Linked DNA regions of Homo sapiens: region 1 is linked to region 2. The links are contacts of gene promoters, found by promoter capture Hi-C in blood cells and fetal thymus (Javierre and others, 2016). All regions are on one chromosome and are shown on one strand. Each heading gives the region's core, a stretch centred on a gene start or on the middle of the fragment in contact. The rest is flanking DNA. Distances are from core to core; before and after follow the strand shown. Region 1 holds the start of FAM76B (family with sequence similarity 76 member B). Region 2 holds the start of MED17 (mediator complex subunit 17).

Region 1 (6,560 bases), core at 1,622-4,121, 2.0 Mb after region 2:
AAGACAATTTGTACTAGGATTGGGTCATGACTTCTGTGAATAAATATCTTTAATTGCGCTGTTTTATAAAAATAGTTCTGAGGAGGCTGTTCTGAAGTGGGCTAAAGTCTGATGATGCAAACTTTATGGATAAGTTCTCCATAACCAAGAATTTGCTATATTTGAATCTCTAAAGAACAGCTTCACAAATTTCACACTGGATTCAATACATGTAAAACAGGTATATAATTTGACTGTTTTTAAATGTTATCACCTTTCCATCAAAGTATCTATAGAAAATGTCTTTCATAAAATATGGTATGTTGAAATATCTAAGAGCATAGCAGTAGTTTTTTTTTTTCGAGACGCAGTCTCGCTCTGTCCCCCAGGCTGGAGTGCAGTGGCAGGATCTCAGCTCACTGCAAACTCCGCCTCCTGAGTTCACGCCATTCTCCTGCCTCAGCCTCTGGAGTAGCTGGGACTACAGGCGCCCACCACCATACCCGGCTCATTTTTTTTTTGTTGTATTTTTAGTAGACATGGGGTTTCACCGTGTTAGCCAGGATGGTCTCCATCTCCTGACCTTGTGATCCGCCCTCCTCGGCCTCCCAAAGTGCTGGGATTACAGGCGTGAGCCACTGTGCCCAGCCAGCAGTACATATTTTTTTAAAAGGTCCAGCTTTATGAAAAATATTAACTGGTAACAATGACATGAAAACATAAGACATACTTACCGTCCCAAATTGCTTCACATTTTGAGCACACTTCTTACAAATTGTGTTAGTTTTGCTGAAAAATAAATTGTATATAGATCATGTTTATGTAGCTTTCTAAAGTAATTAGCACAATGTCAAAATAAAATGAGTCAAAGATTTGTTGTACTTAAAACTTTAATAAGGACCACGGATTTTTTTCAAATATACAAGGATATTTTCAGAGTTGTTTTACCCAAATTAACTTATGACAAATGTTTTTATACATTTTTATTGCATATTACTTTTTGTAAACAAAACATCTTAATGTTTCCTATATAGCTCCAAAATCTTCACACTTGACACTATTACTGCACAGCATTACAATACCAGTGCCTACCTAACCTTCCACTTGGCTACTGTCCAACATTATAATGCCCACACCTATTTATGAAGAAATTATTTGTTCTTTTCTGAGGCTACTTTCTGTATATACTCTCAGAGTGGAACTGTTAAAAATGTTACGTACTACTCCTCTTCTATGTAACAAATTATTAGATTTTCACCTTGGAAGGCAGTTGGTAACACTACAGACCTTTCCTCAGATCCATTAAGGCTTTACCATTTTTTTTTAGTTTAACATAACTGTTTACATTTGCATTTTCATTAGCAAGGCTGTACATTTTCCATGTAGTATTATTCCTTCTCTCATATAAAGTCTAACTGTAAATTAACCACCACTGGTTTTTTTCGCAACATTCTCTCTCCCACCATGTATAAAAGGTTTACAACTTAAAATTTCTGGGGCTAAACCATTTTTTAAAAATACTTTCATAAAAACATGGGATTACAACCCCCAAGTATTCCATAAAGACAACACTTGTCTTTAACAGTCAAAAACTATTCAGTATACAAACCTCTCTTGTTGAAATTCTGATCTGCAGTAAGTACATTTTACAATAGGATGTGCAATCCGACATTCCTGTAATAAGACAATACATTAGTCAGTATCTTTCTGAAAGTCCCAAATCTCACTTTTCTGGTAGAAAACTGTTTACCCAACCTAGTGAAAGTCTAAAACATTTATAAAACCTGGCCCCAACGTAAAGAACTGGATGCTTTATCATATAAGTGGCCAATCACAATATAATTCCTTAGGGAAGGCACAGGTGTCTTTGTCTTTAGTAGACGTGGGGGTATATTACAGACAAATTAAGAAAGCTGTCAGGGCCTATTTCAAGGATTGGTTAAATGTGAAACTACTTATTATTTTGCACCGTTGCTCACAGACAGCATCCAGGCTTTAATGGGATGGGAGGAGCTCCAAATCAGAGCATTCTGTTCCCAAACCAGTCGCTTCGCTTTCCTGGACAGGGAAGAAGGATGCCATCAGCTTTGCGGCTTCGGGTTCCTAGCAAGAAAGTGCAAAAACCGTCCCCTGCCTCCTGGTGGAAGAAGAGGACAGACCAGGCAGAAAACCGAGATGAAAACATCTCCACCCCTGGGTCTCTGCGGCATAGACAGGTGGCTGCCTCACTCAACCCCACTCCTGAGACCCCCAGACGCTGACGGGGCCCGGCACCCTCCTGGGCCGCCTGGAAAAGGGCACGATTCTGCCTCCCTTTCAGGGTCCGTTCCCAGCTAATGTTCAAGCCCCCAGAAAAAGGGGTCCCCGAGTGGGGAGGCGAGGGCTCCAGACTCCCAAACCCCTGAGGCGCCGGCGAAGAGGGGCTGCAGTGCAGCGGCTACCCGGCCCCCTCCGGCTACGGCCGAGGACACCCATCCCGCCCGCCTCCCGGAGCCCACGGACCTTGCAGAGCTGCTGGCCCTGGGAGAGCTCCTCGAAAGGATAACGCTGGGTACACTTGGTGCAGGCGTACAGGGCCGAGGCCGCCATCCTGCTCCTCAGTCTCCTCCTCCGCCGCCGCCCGCTCCGAGGCGGGGCCCTACGGAGAACCCGAGAGCCGCCGCCGCCCGGGCCGCGGGCTCCTCCTCCTCCCCCTCCCCCTGCCTCGCGCCCACCAGGGCCTCGCCGCGAGAGCCCAGGGCCCCGCGGACGACGCCACCGTCTCCCTCCGCCTCCACTTCCGCCCCAGCCCACCCAGTGACGCCGTGCCAGCCGCTCCCGCTTAGGCCCCGATAGCGGCGGAGGGAGACGAAGCGGGTAGGGGGTTGCTGTTTAGCTGTGCGGCCGTGGATCCGCTTCCTTCTCGGCCTCCCTTTCCCATCCCTGATTGGCTGCGAAGGCTATCGCGTCATTCGATGGCTCCTCCCAACTCCCAACTTCCGCGACGCAGGAAGCGCCCACAAAGGGAGGATGTCGCCGGCCAATGACATCCCGGAGCTCTCAGCGCGCGAAATCCGCTTTGAACCTGCCCCGCCCAAAGGTCTGCGGTCGCGGCTATTTCTAACAGCCAGTCCCAGGTTTGGCTGAGAGCGCCCCAATCCAATTGAGCAAATGTTCGCGAAAGGCTCGTTCTCTGCCGCAACTTTTTTTCCCTTGCTTTCTATTGGACTAAATCGTTAAGTCCCTCCTAATCCTATTTGTTATTGGCCAAAAGGTAAATACTTCACCTGGAGAGGCGTCCCCGAGGCAAATTCACGCTCTCTCCGGCGTTTAATCCGAGGGAACTCGTGGAGTGCTTTAACTTCGCCTTCGCTTTTGTTTTATCTCCATTACTCCCTTCAGTTGCCACTGGCGACACCACTACTCGCCCACGCTTCTTACTGGAGGAGGCCCGACCCTCCGTAGAATCCCCGCAGAGCCGGCCTGTAACCCCGGCGTTGTCTGCCCCAGCGGGCCCCGTTACGCGCTACCTTGTGACGTCACCAGGGAAGAGGCGGATTCTCTCCTACTACAGAAAGACGTCTGCTGTTTTGATTGGCTAGGAAAGACGTCCGTTAGGACGTGTTGCCCTTTCTGTGTAAGCTGTGAGCGTAGGCGGCCCTGAGGGGGTGTGTTGCAGGGGTTTCCAAGCCCAGCACCAGCACCCTTGCCCTTTTCCATCAGGGGTTCAGCCTAGGGTCCCCGCTGGTGGGCGGCTCCCGAGTCTTGGAGAAGAGCACGAGAACCTAGACCGCCCCCGAAGTGCGGAGACCCCCTGGGCAGGCTGAAAGATGGCGGCGGCGTCTGTCTCTGCGGCTTCTGGTTCTCACTTGTCGGTAAGAAGCAGTTGGCGCGAGTGGGCCCCACGTCGGCCCTAAGCGCCTCTTTGAGTTTCCTCACGTTTCAGGGCGCTGTCAGTCCAGCTTCTGACGCAATTCTGGAGGTCGGCGGGAATGCCTAGATTGCCCCGCGCTCCCCAAGCTTCCATTCACTGTGGCTGTGTCGAAGCTGCACCCTCTGGCTCCCAGTGAAACTGGGCTGGCCGCCCCTGTTCCCCAGCCCTTATTCACCTTTTGGCGTAGCAACCAACCCCGGTTGCCTAACATTCCCAAGGGCCGGCTGGGATAACTGCCCACTCCCTGGCCTGCAAAAATGTAGCTCTTTTGGTCACGTGGGTTCAGCGGCCCCTCTAGGAAACTCGCCAGATCAGGTGAGGCGCGCCAGTGTGTTTAAGAGACGTTGCAGAATAGTAGTCCGCCGTCTCTCGAGCGCTTACTAGTCGTTGCTTATGCTGTTTCCTATCCCTGCAGTGCCTCCCACTCCCATCCACATTAACTTCGTTGTGTGATGCTCGTAGCCAGAACGCGCGCTTCCTGTCACCTAGAATTACTGGAACTTCAATGTGGAAATGCCCTTTTGGAGAGGCGACAGGGGGAATTGATTTTAAATATTGTTTTCGCCTCATCAAATGTCACCATCCAGTTTAGTTACTGGTATTCACTGGTATTTCTCAAATTGGAGTGTCGAATGCTTAGGTTTTTGAAAACCGCGGCATTGGAAAGCTTTGATAGGAAGTAAATGTTGGAGCTCTTATTTCTCCAGTTAGCAAATGTTCGATGCCTGGTATACTGTTAGGGTCCAAATGAACAGAATAGAAACCCTGCTTTGAAGGAGAAAAACACTGAAGAGAAACTACACGTAATTAGTGATTACTGCGCAGTATAGTTTAGGAAGTGCTACCGTAGTAGAATAATCTAGAGGGGAGTGATTAACAGTGCTTGGGTAGGCTAGAGAAGGTTTCCTAGAAGGGAAGATGGAGCTAGTTGCGTGTCGAAGGAATTGTGATTGCTTGTCCCAAGAGTAGAGAAAGGAGAAAAAGGCAGTGCGGGAATTTTGGAGTATGTGCTAGAACAGTAGGTGCTTTTAGGAAACTTGAGATAGTTCGGAATGAGAAGAAGTAATACGGAGGTAGAGCTGGATGAGGTGAATTGGAAACGTAGGTAAAAACGTGAAAAAAGAAGGATGGTGAGGGAAGGAACTAGAAGAGTATCAGGGTAAAGTTATTTTCTAGGATCTAGGGGGAAAGAGTTGGAAACGCTAAGAAAGCCTGGTCACCTTGGAGAAGTCAGTTTCAGCTTTTGGAGACTTGTTAGAATTTGTAATAATGGGACTAGAAGTATTACAGTGTTTCAGCCGAATGGGAATTAGAAGTTTGCAGAGAGGTCTGGGGAAGTTAAGGAGAAGTAAGGAAAGCAGCAATTTAAGGTTATTCAGGATTAGGTCAGTAAAAGAAAAAAGTAAAAAACTATTGGAAGTGTCAGCAGATGGATGAGATTTTATAGGAGATGTGATTAAACTTGGGAGAAGAGGGCTTTTCACGGCTCTCAAAAGTTAAGCACTTGGAGACCGAACAAGGAATACTCTTACAAATGTTGAATTGAGTCTGGGTGCGTGGCTCATGCCTGTAATACCAGCTACTAGTGAGGCTGAGGCGGGAGGATCACTGAGGCTGAAGTGAGGTATGATAGTGCCACTGCTCTCCAGCCTGGGCGACAGAGCGACCCTGTCTCCATAAAATAAAATATTAAATAAACGTTTAATTGAGCTGCACTATGCCAAGGACACCTAGGTGAGCATTGGCACTGGGATATAGTCAGCTGTTAATACTTATACGGTACCCTTGACAGAAATACCAAAGACTGTTCATTAGGAAAGCATATTTTTTTTGTGCTAAGCTCAGCTTTAATAGGATTCTAAATATCAAGGGTACACTAAGAATATCTAGGAACCTCCACAAATCAAAGTATAACAACCATAACTCAATCTGCTACATCAAAATGTCTATTTTGGAAGTTACTGTTTCTCAAAACAAAAATGACTAAATTTAGTTGGTTTCTTGGTGCGTAAGAAAACGTCCTGCTTAGATGTCCCATCAGAAATAAGGCTGCCATTTCCAACAGCGTTGGAAAAGCACTTAGCTTATCAAACAGCTGATCTTAACAGTAGGCAACATTTAAAAAAAAAAAAACTTGTTAAAACTATACCATGAACTGAGAACACAACTCGTATTCAGATTTCACGGTTATGAAGATTAACAACTGTTATATTCAACTGTTTTCGACATTGATAAACTCATACGGAGCTAGTTATAAGTACATTGAGATGCTTTACAGGCAAAGATTTTTAACAAGTAGATTCATAAATAACCGTCTTTGGGAAGCAGTGACCATGTAAATCTCAAATGTGAACAGCATGGAAGTAGGGCGATAGGTTTCAGTTAGGTTCTAGGTAACGTTTATTGAGTGATTGCTCTGGAATTGATAAACTTCGACTGGTGGAAAAGGCAGGAAAGCAACTATGATTGGGCATAATGAAATTAATTCCATATGGAGGTATGGGCAGCATTGTGTTGAAATACACAAGAATGTCTTTCATGTCAGCCTTGTAATATTTTCACAATAACCTTGGTGATTAATGACCTAATCTCTTGATTTGTCCCTCTGACTTTTGGTCCTTCGACCAAGCTGCACAGTAGCTCCATATTAATTTCCCTTAAAAATGTT
Region 2 (6,556 bases), core at 2,421-4,920:
TAAAAATACAAAAATTAGCCGGGTGTGATGGTGGGCACCTGCCTGTAATCCCAGCTACTGGGGATGCTGAGGCAGGAGAATCACTTGAACCCTGGAGGCACAGGTTGCGGTGAGCTGAGATTGCATCACTGCACTCCAGCCTGGGTGACAGAATGAGACTCCATCTCAAAAAAACAAAAAACAGAAACTAGAATAGACTCCTGGATCCATGTCTGGATCTGAAGAGGGCTCCATCTCCTGAGGGACTGTTTCCCCAGAAGGTGATCTCTGTTTCAAAATAAGTCAATGACAGGTCTAGAACAAGATAACATCTGATGTAGGTGGCTAAAACCCAAGACTCCAAACCAGGCCTGTATCTAAACAAATGCTTAATATTAGCAAATGTTAATACATGGGGAAGACTTTCCTTTACAAGCTCCCATTAAACTTCTTTCTTTTTGTCCTTAGTTTTCATGTCTCGGCACTACTATCATTAACTGTTGCCCATAAAGCAAACCTCTTTTTGCAATGGGCTTAGGACTATGCTAATAGATTATTTAAAAAAATGCTGATTGAACATGTGGTCTCATGCCCCTTTCCAGTAGTTCTGGCTTTCCTGGTGGGTATCTTCTCTCCAAGGAAAGAAATATATTGCTCCAAGGAGAGAAGATATTGCATAGAATATCAGAAATATATTTGTGTTTCTTAAAAACAGTCATGGTGCTTGACAGTAGTATGATGAAGGATAAAGTACATCACTAGCCTATTAATAATACTTTAAAGGCTGGGCGCAGTAGTTCACACCTGTAATCCTTGCACTTTGGGAAGCCAAGGCGGGCAGATCGACTGAGCTCAGGAGTTTGAGACCAGCCTGGCCAGCAAAGTGAGACCCTGTCTCGACTAAAAACACAAAAATTAATCAGTCGTGGTGGTGTGCACCTGTAGTCCCAGCTACTCGGGAGGCTAAGGCAGGAGAATCACTTGAACCTAGGAGGCGGAGGTTGCAATGAGCCAAGATCGCACCACTGCACTCCAGCCTGGGTGACAGAGCAAAACTCCATCTCAAAAAACAAAACAAAAACAAAACAAAACAAAACGAAACAAAACCTTTACAGAGTAAAAGCCATGGAAGGAGCTTCTTAGTAAAAGAAACTAGTTTGTTAACTTTAATGCTGGCACTGTCCCAACTAAGTAATGAAACAACGACACTGTTCCAATTAAGAGATAAGACACCTTGATTTCAGAATGGTATAACACAAATTGGGGATGGTTTTATCTGGCTTATCCCTCCTTCTGTCAGCCCAGCCACCTTGTCCTTGCCACCCCAACTTTTTATTTATTTATTTTTTTTGAGACAGAGTCTTACTCTGTTGCCCAGCCTGGAGTGCAGTGGTGAGATCTTGGCTCACTGTAATCTCTGCCTCCTGGGTTCAAGTGATTCTCCTGCCTCAGCCTTCTGAGTACCTGGGATTACAGGCATGCATCACCACGCCCAGCTAGTTTTTGTATTTTTAGTAGAGACGAGGTTTCGTCATGTTGGCCAGGCTAGTCTCGAACTCCTGACCTCAGGTGATCCACCCGCCTCATTCTCCCAAAGTGGAGGATTACAGGCGTGAGCCACCGTGCCTGGCCACTTTGCCCCTTTATGTTGGGAACAAAGAAATCATACCAAAGATATCTGGCCCAAAAGCACTGGAGATATGGCATGGATACCCAAAGAACTGTGTATTCACACCATTATATTACAAAGTACTGACTGGCATGCCATTTAATGTATTTATTGATTAGCTCCAAATGGAACATTTTGGCTATGTGGCACTAACCTATGACCATGGTTACTTCCAGGATAGTTAGGATGATGTTTTTCAGGTTATGCTTAATCATATATTTGAGTAGTTTGTACTTTGCCAAAACCTGCAAATTTTCCTTATTTATGATCTCATTGGGTTCATCCTGTGTTTCATTGGTATGATCACTTAGCTTCCATCTTCATACCACAACTGAGTGTTGAAGATGTTATTTGGCATATAGAGGTCCTAACCAATTATACCCAAAAGATAGCTACATAAGTATTCCATTATTAAACAATAGTTATTCTTATGGAAAAGGCCATTATTACAAAACCGTATGGCTTTTGACATACTCACCGAAGCCCAGGGAGGAACTTGCATTATCATAAAAACTGTGTGTTATGTCTGTATCCCAGATGAATCAGATAATATCACTACGTTAATGGATAATATGAAAACCTTAACAACTAACCTTTCAGATCCAACACATCTTTAAACAACTGGCTAAGCAGCTAGTTTTGATCTTGAAGACTTGGTGGCAAAAGCTTTGCTTATTCTAGGAATCATAATCATTTGTTGTTGTCTTGTTTTTGTCTGCACTATTAGACTGCCACTGCGCCTGGCTATTAATCAGATTTTAAAATAAAGTTAAAAAAAATTTTTAAACAAATTTACACGAAAAGCAAGTACAGTGGTTCTCGAACATGATTGGGCGACAGACTGTACAGCTTGCCAGAAATAGGTTTCTCTCATGAAAATTCAACCCCCTCCACACACGGCCATCTACTTTCTTCTTCAGCAGGGACTGACACCAGGGCAACCGTATTTTCCTAAATACCTTAGGAAAGTAGTTCAAAACCTAGATATATCTTGGTCAGAACAAAACCTGGCAAACACTCATGATAAACGGTATATATAATTCCTTAAACGAAATATAGAGGTTTGTAATATAAAATAATCCATCTTTGTCTGTGGAATTCCTACTAATGAAATACGTTCTTGGAGACCCAAAGACTGAAGTTATACCACTTCTTCTTAATCTTTTAAATATTATTTGCAGGCCAGGCATGGTGACACGCTCCTATAGTCCCAGCTCCTCAGGAGGCTAAGGCAGGAGCATCGTTGGAGCCCAGGAGCTCCAGGCTGTAGCGTGCTGACAGCACTTGTGAATAACCTCTGCACTCAGCCTGGGCAACATAGTGGGACCCCATCACTAATAAAAAAGCGAGATCAACATTATTTATTCTGTTACTCGGGCATAAAATAAATATTAAGCACTTACTACATGCCAGAGTCTATTATGTCTGCTGCAGATATTGGCTGTCATAGAGTTATAACTAACAGGAAACCAAATAATTACGTAGTATAATTTTAAGTGGTGATAAGCACGATTGTTTCCCCCAAGCCATGCCCTTAATTTCTAACTCTTCAGATAGTGTTTCTTTAAAAAATTTCTTGCTAATTTAAAATAACTTTTGTTTTGAGGCAGGATCCCACTCTGTTGCTTAGGCTGGAATGCAGCGGTGAGATCTCGGCTCACTGCAGCCTCCATCTCCAGGGCTCAAGCCATTCTCCCGCCTCAGCCACCCGCGTAGCTGGACCACAGGCGCGCGCCACCAGATCTCAGTTCTCTCAACAGGACTCTCATTGCTAAGATCCAAGGATCCATTAATTTCCTTTTCCTTAACTCTTCTAGCCTCTGCAGCTTTCTTTCCTCATCCACTTTTTAAACAAACGCAGGCTTAAAAAGCAAGGAATATACCCGCCACACTCTCGGCTCCCAAACCGCTCTTTCCCTCCCTCTGCCGGCCACGCCTCTTATAGGCCCGGAAGTTTACCCCACCCTGCACCGTGATTCACCGGAAGCGCTCTAGGGAACCCTGGAGCTTCCGCGCCTGCCCAGTTTTGCTCCGAAAGACTTACCGAGGAGGGAGCTTGCGGTGCGTTCTGGGAAAGTTGCTGGGCCAGCTCCTTTGTTTCCAGTCTGAGCGTTGCGTTCGGTTTCCCGAGGGTCTTCTGAGGCACCGCGGCTGCGGGCTTCTGAGTTCCCGGCTCTCCGCAGGGAAGCCTCCTCTTCGTACCTCGTTTTTTGGCTCGTGGGGGGTCCTCCCACCGCTGGCCGACGCAGCCAGCATGTCCGGGGTGCGCGCAGTGCGGATCAGCATCGAATCGGCCTGCGAGAAGCAGGTCCATGAGGTGGGCCTGGATGGCACCGAGACGTACCTGCCCCCGCTGTCCATGTCGCAGAATCTGGCGCGTCTGGCCCAGCGGATAGACTTCAGCCAGGGTTCGGGCTCCGAGGAGGAGGAGGCGGCGGGGACCGAGGGCGACGCGCAGGAGTGGCCGGGCGCCGGGTCCAGCGCAGACCAGGACGACGAGGAAGGTAAGGCCTGCATCCGCTGCCCGAGTCCCCCGGTCTGGGTCCCAGCACCCGCGCGGGCCTCCGCCTCTCCCGCGATGGGGGTGATCTTGTGCGTGCGAGAACTTTTGAGTGTCCCTCTAGCGGAAGCGTAAGGATACTTGGTCGTCATCTTTTTGTTGCTGCCGGACAAGGTAGGACACGACTTTACGTAATACTCCTGCGGGTCTCCTTGAATGGCAGCGTTTAGAGACACTGTCAAACCGTGAAATGTTTAAATGAATGCTTCTCTGTAGAGGGCCTTTAATGTAGCACACTTAGTGGCTAAAAGAGCCCTAGATCGGGGCTCTGCCCCTTGCCGGCTGTGTGACCTTGGGCGAGTTACTTTGCATCCTTGTGCGGTGTGAATGATGATAGTAGCACCTGCAGAAAAGAGGTCTGTTTTGACTGAAATGTGTGACGAGGTCCAAGAGGTAGGCGGGTCCAGATCATGTAGAACCCAGTAGGCCGGGATAAGCGTTTGACTAGTGTTAAGACCACTGAAAGCTTTTGCAGGATAAGTAGAGATGGTTTTGTTAAAGTTTACTCTAGATGCTTTCTAATAAATGAATTATAGGGAAAGCAAAACTGGAAGGGAGGAGACTAGGAGGGAAGTGAAGAAATAATGAGTGGGTTTCAGATTCTCATTATTGTCAAGGATTTTTGAAAAAAAAATCAAAATTCTTAATTTAGTTATGCAGCACACCCAGTGTAAATGGGAATTTAAAGATGTCATTTCAGGGCAGTGCTGTTAGGATTATTAGGGGTCTATTTGCAAAAAAAGGTAAATACTACTTTATACCTCACACAAAAATTATTTCCACAGTAATTTTTGAGGATTGAAGTGCCAAATGAAGAAAGTAAAACAAAGTGTTAGAAGAAATAATGAAAGAATAGTTGTATTATTCTGGGAGTCGGATAGATCTTCTTAATTTCGGAAATAACAGGACAGGCATGGTGGCTCACACCTGTAGTTCCAACATTTTTGGAGGCCAAGGTGGAAGGATCACTTGAGCCCAGACTTCAAGACCAGCCTGAGCAACATAGGGAGCTCCTGCCTCTACAAATTAAAAAAATTAGCTGGGCGTGGTGGTGCACGTCTGTGGTCCCAGCTACTGGGGAGGCTGAGGGAGGAGGATGGATTCAGCCAGTGAGATCAAGGCTGCAGTGAGCTATGATTGTGCCACCGCACTCCAGCCTGGGTAACAGAACAAGACTCTAACATCCACACACACAACCACACACCTACCTACCTTACAAAGTATAGATATATTACTTACATAAAATTTAAAAATAATGGGAAAAGATGCCATAAGCAAAGTAAAAAGATAAATGACAGACTGGGAGAAGTTCTACACATATAACACAAATTTAGTTGATATCTTCTCTATTCAAAAAGTCCCTTCAGACTGAAAAGAAAATAATGACACTTTGGAAAAATAGGCCAAAGGTATCTGAAGGCTCATAGAGGAGAGACTTCAGATACCAATAAACAGAACATAGACTCAATCTCATTACTAGGGACTGGGAAATTAAAACATGATTAAGATACTCTTTCCATGCACAAAATTGACAGAAATTGAAAAGATTGTTAATATTCAGGGTTAGGAATGTGAACTGGTAGTGATTCTGAAAGACAATTTGGCAGTTTAATATGTGCCAACATTTAATTTTAACTTTTTTTGGTTTGTTTTGTTTTTTTTTTTGAGATGGAGTCTTGCTCTGTCGGCCAGGCTGGAGTGCAGTGGTGCAATCTCGGCTCACTGCAACCCCTGCCTCCTGGATTCAAAACGATTCTCCCACTTCAGCTTCCCTAGTATGTGGGACTGTAGGCGTGCGGCACCATGCCTGGCTAATTTTTGTATTTTTAGTAGAGATAGAGTTTCACCATGTTGGCCAGGCTGGTCTTAAATACCTGATGTCAGGTGATCCACCCTGCCTCGGCCTCCCAAAGTGCTGGGATTACAGGCCTGAGCCACTGCACCCAGCCGAAACTTTTAAATGTATATCTCCTTTGATTCACTATTACCACGACTAAAAATTTAACCTGCAGAAAAAGTTGCACATATACAGGGTATATATTCAAGATGTTTACCACTGCTAGCATTGTTGGAAGCAGTTTACTTGTTGGAAGCAATCTACATGTCCGTTAAATACAAGTGGTTAAACATACCGTACATCCATGTTCCAGAATATCATACAGTGTTAGAAGAATTAAGTAGACTCATAAGTACTAACATGGAAGTGTCTCTAGGAAATATTAAGTGGGGGCGGGGGAAAGGCAAGTAATAGAAAATTGGAAATAGATGTATGTAAGTGCATAGAAAAACCTTTGAAAGGGTACACTCACTGGGGCCGGGCGCAGTGGCTCACGTCTGTAATCCCAGCA

What was found. The method cuts DNA at HindIII sites, captures the fragments that hold promoters and counts their contacts. A CHiCAGO score of 5 or more calls a contact.
Region 1: the fragment with the promoter of FAM76B here is called in contact with the fragment with the promoter of MED17 in region 2 in 2 of 17 cell types (monocytes and non-activated CD4 T cells); the score reaches 5.6 in monocytes.

The regions. Positions count from the first base shown.
Region 1 is chr11:95,786,911-95,793,470 of GRCh38, forward strand. It overlaps FAM76B (family with sequence similarity 76 member B), which reads right to left and starts at 2,872. Exons shown (of 10, transcript NM_144664.5): 1 at 2,482-2,872; 2 at 1,589-1,653; 3 at 714-768. The coding sequence starts at 2,568. It overlaps CEP57 (centrosomal protein 57), which reads left to right and starts at 3,588. Exons shown (of 11, transcript NM_014679.5): 1 at 3,588-3,833. The coding sequence starts at 3,789. RefSeq lists a silencer at 2,480-2,899 and enhancers at 3,400-3,869, 3,833-4,496. The HindIII fragment of the contact is 14,564 bases long and covers 1-3,976 here.
Region 2 is chr11:93,780,612-93,787,167 of GRCh38, forward strand. MED17 (mediator complex subunit 17) reads left to right here and starts at 3,671. Exons shown (of 12, transcript NM_004268.5): 1 at 3,671-4,152. The coding sequence starts at 3,903. RefSeq lists enhancers at 3,492-3,786, 3,728-3,947, 5,956-6,455 and silencers at 4,078-4,207, 4,209-4,403. The HindIII fragment of the contact is 2,360 bases long and covers 2,313-4,672 here.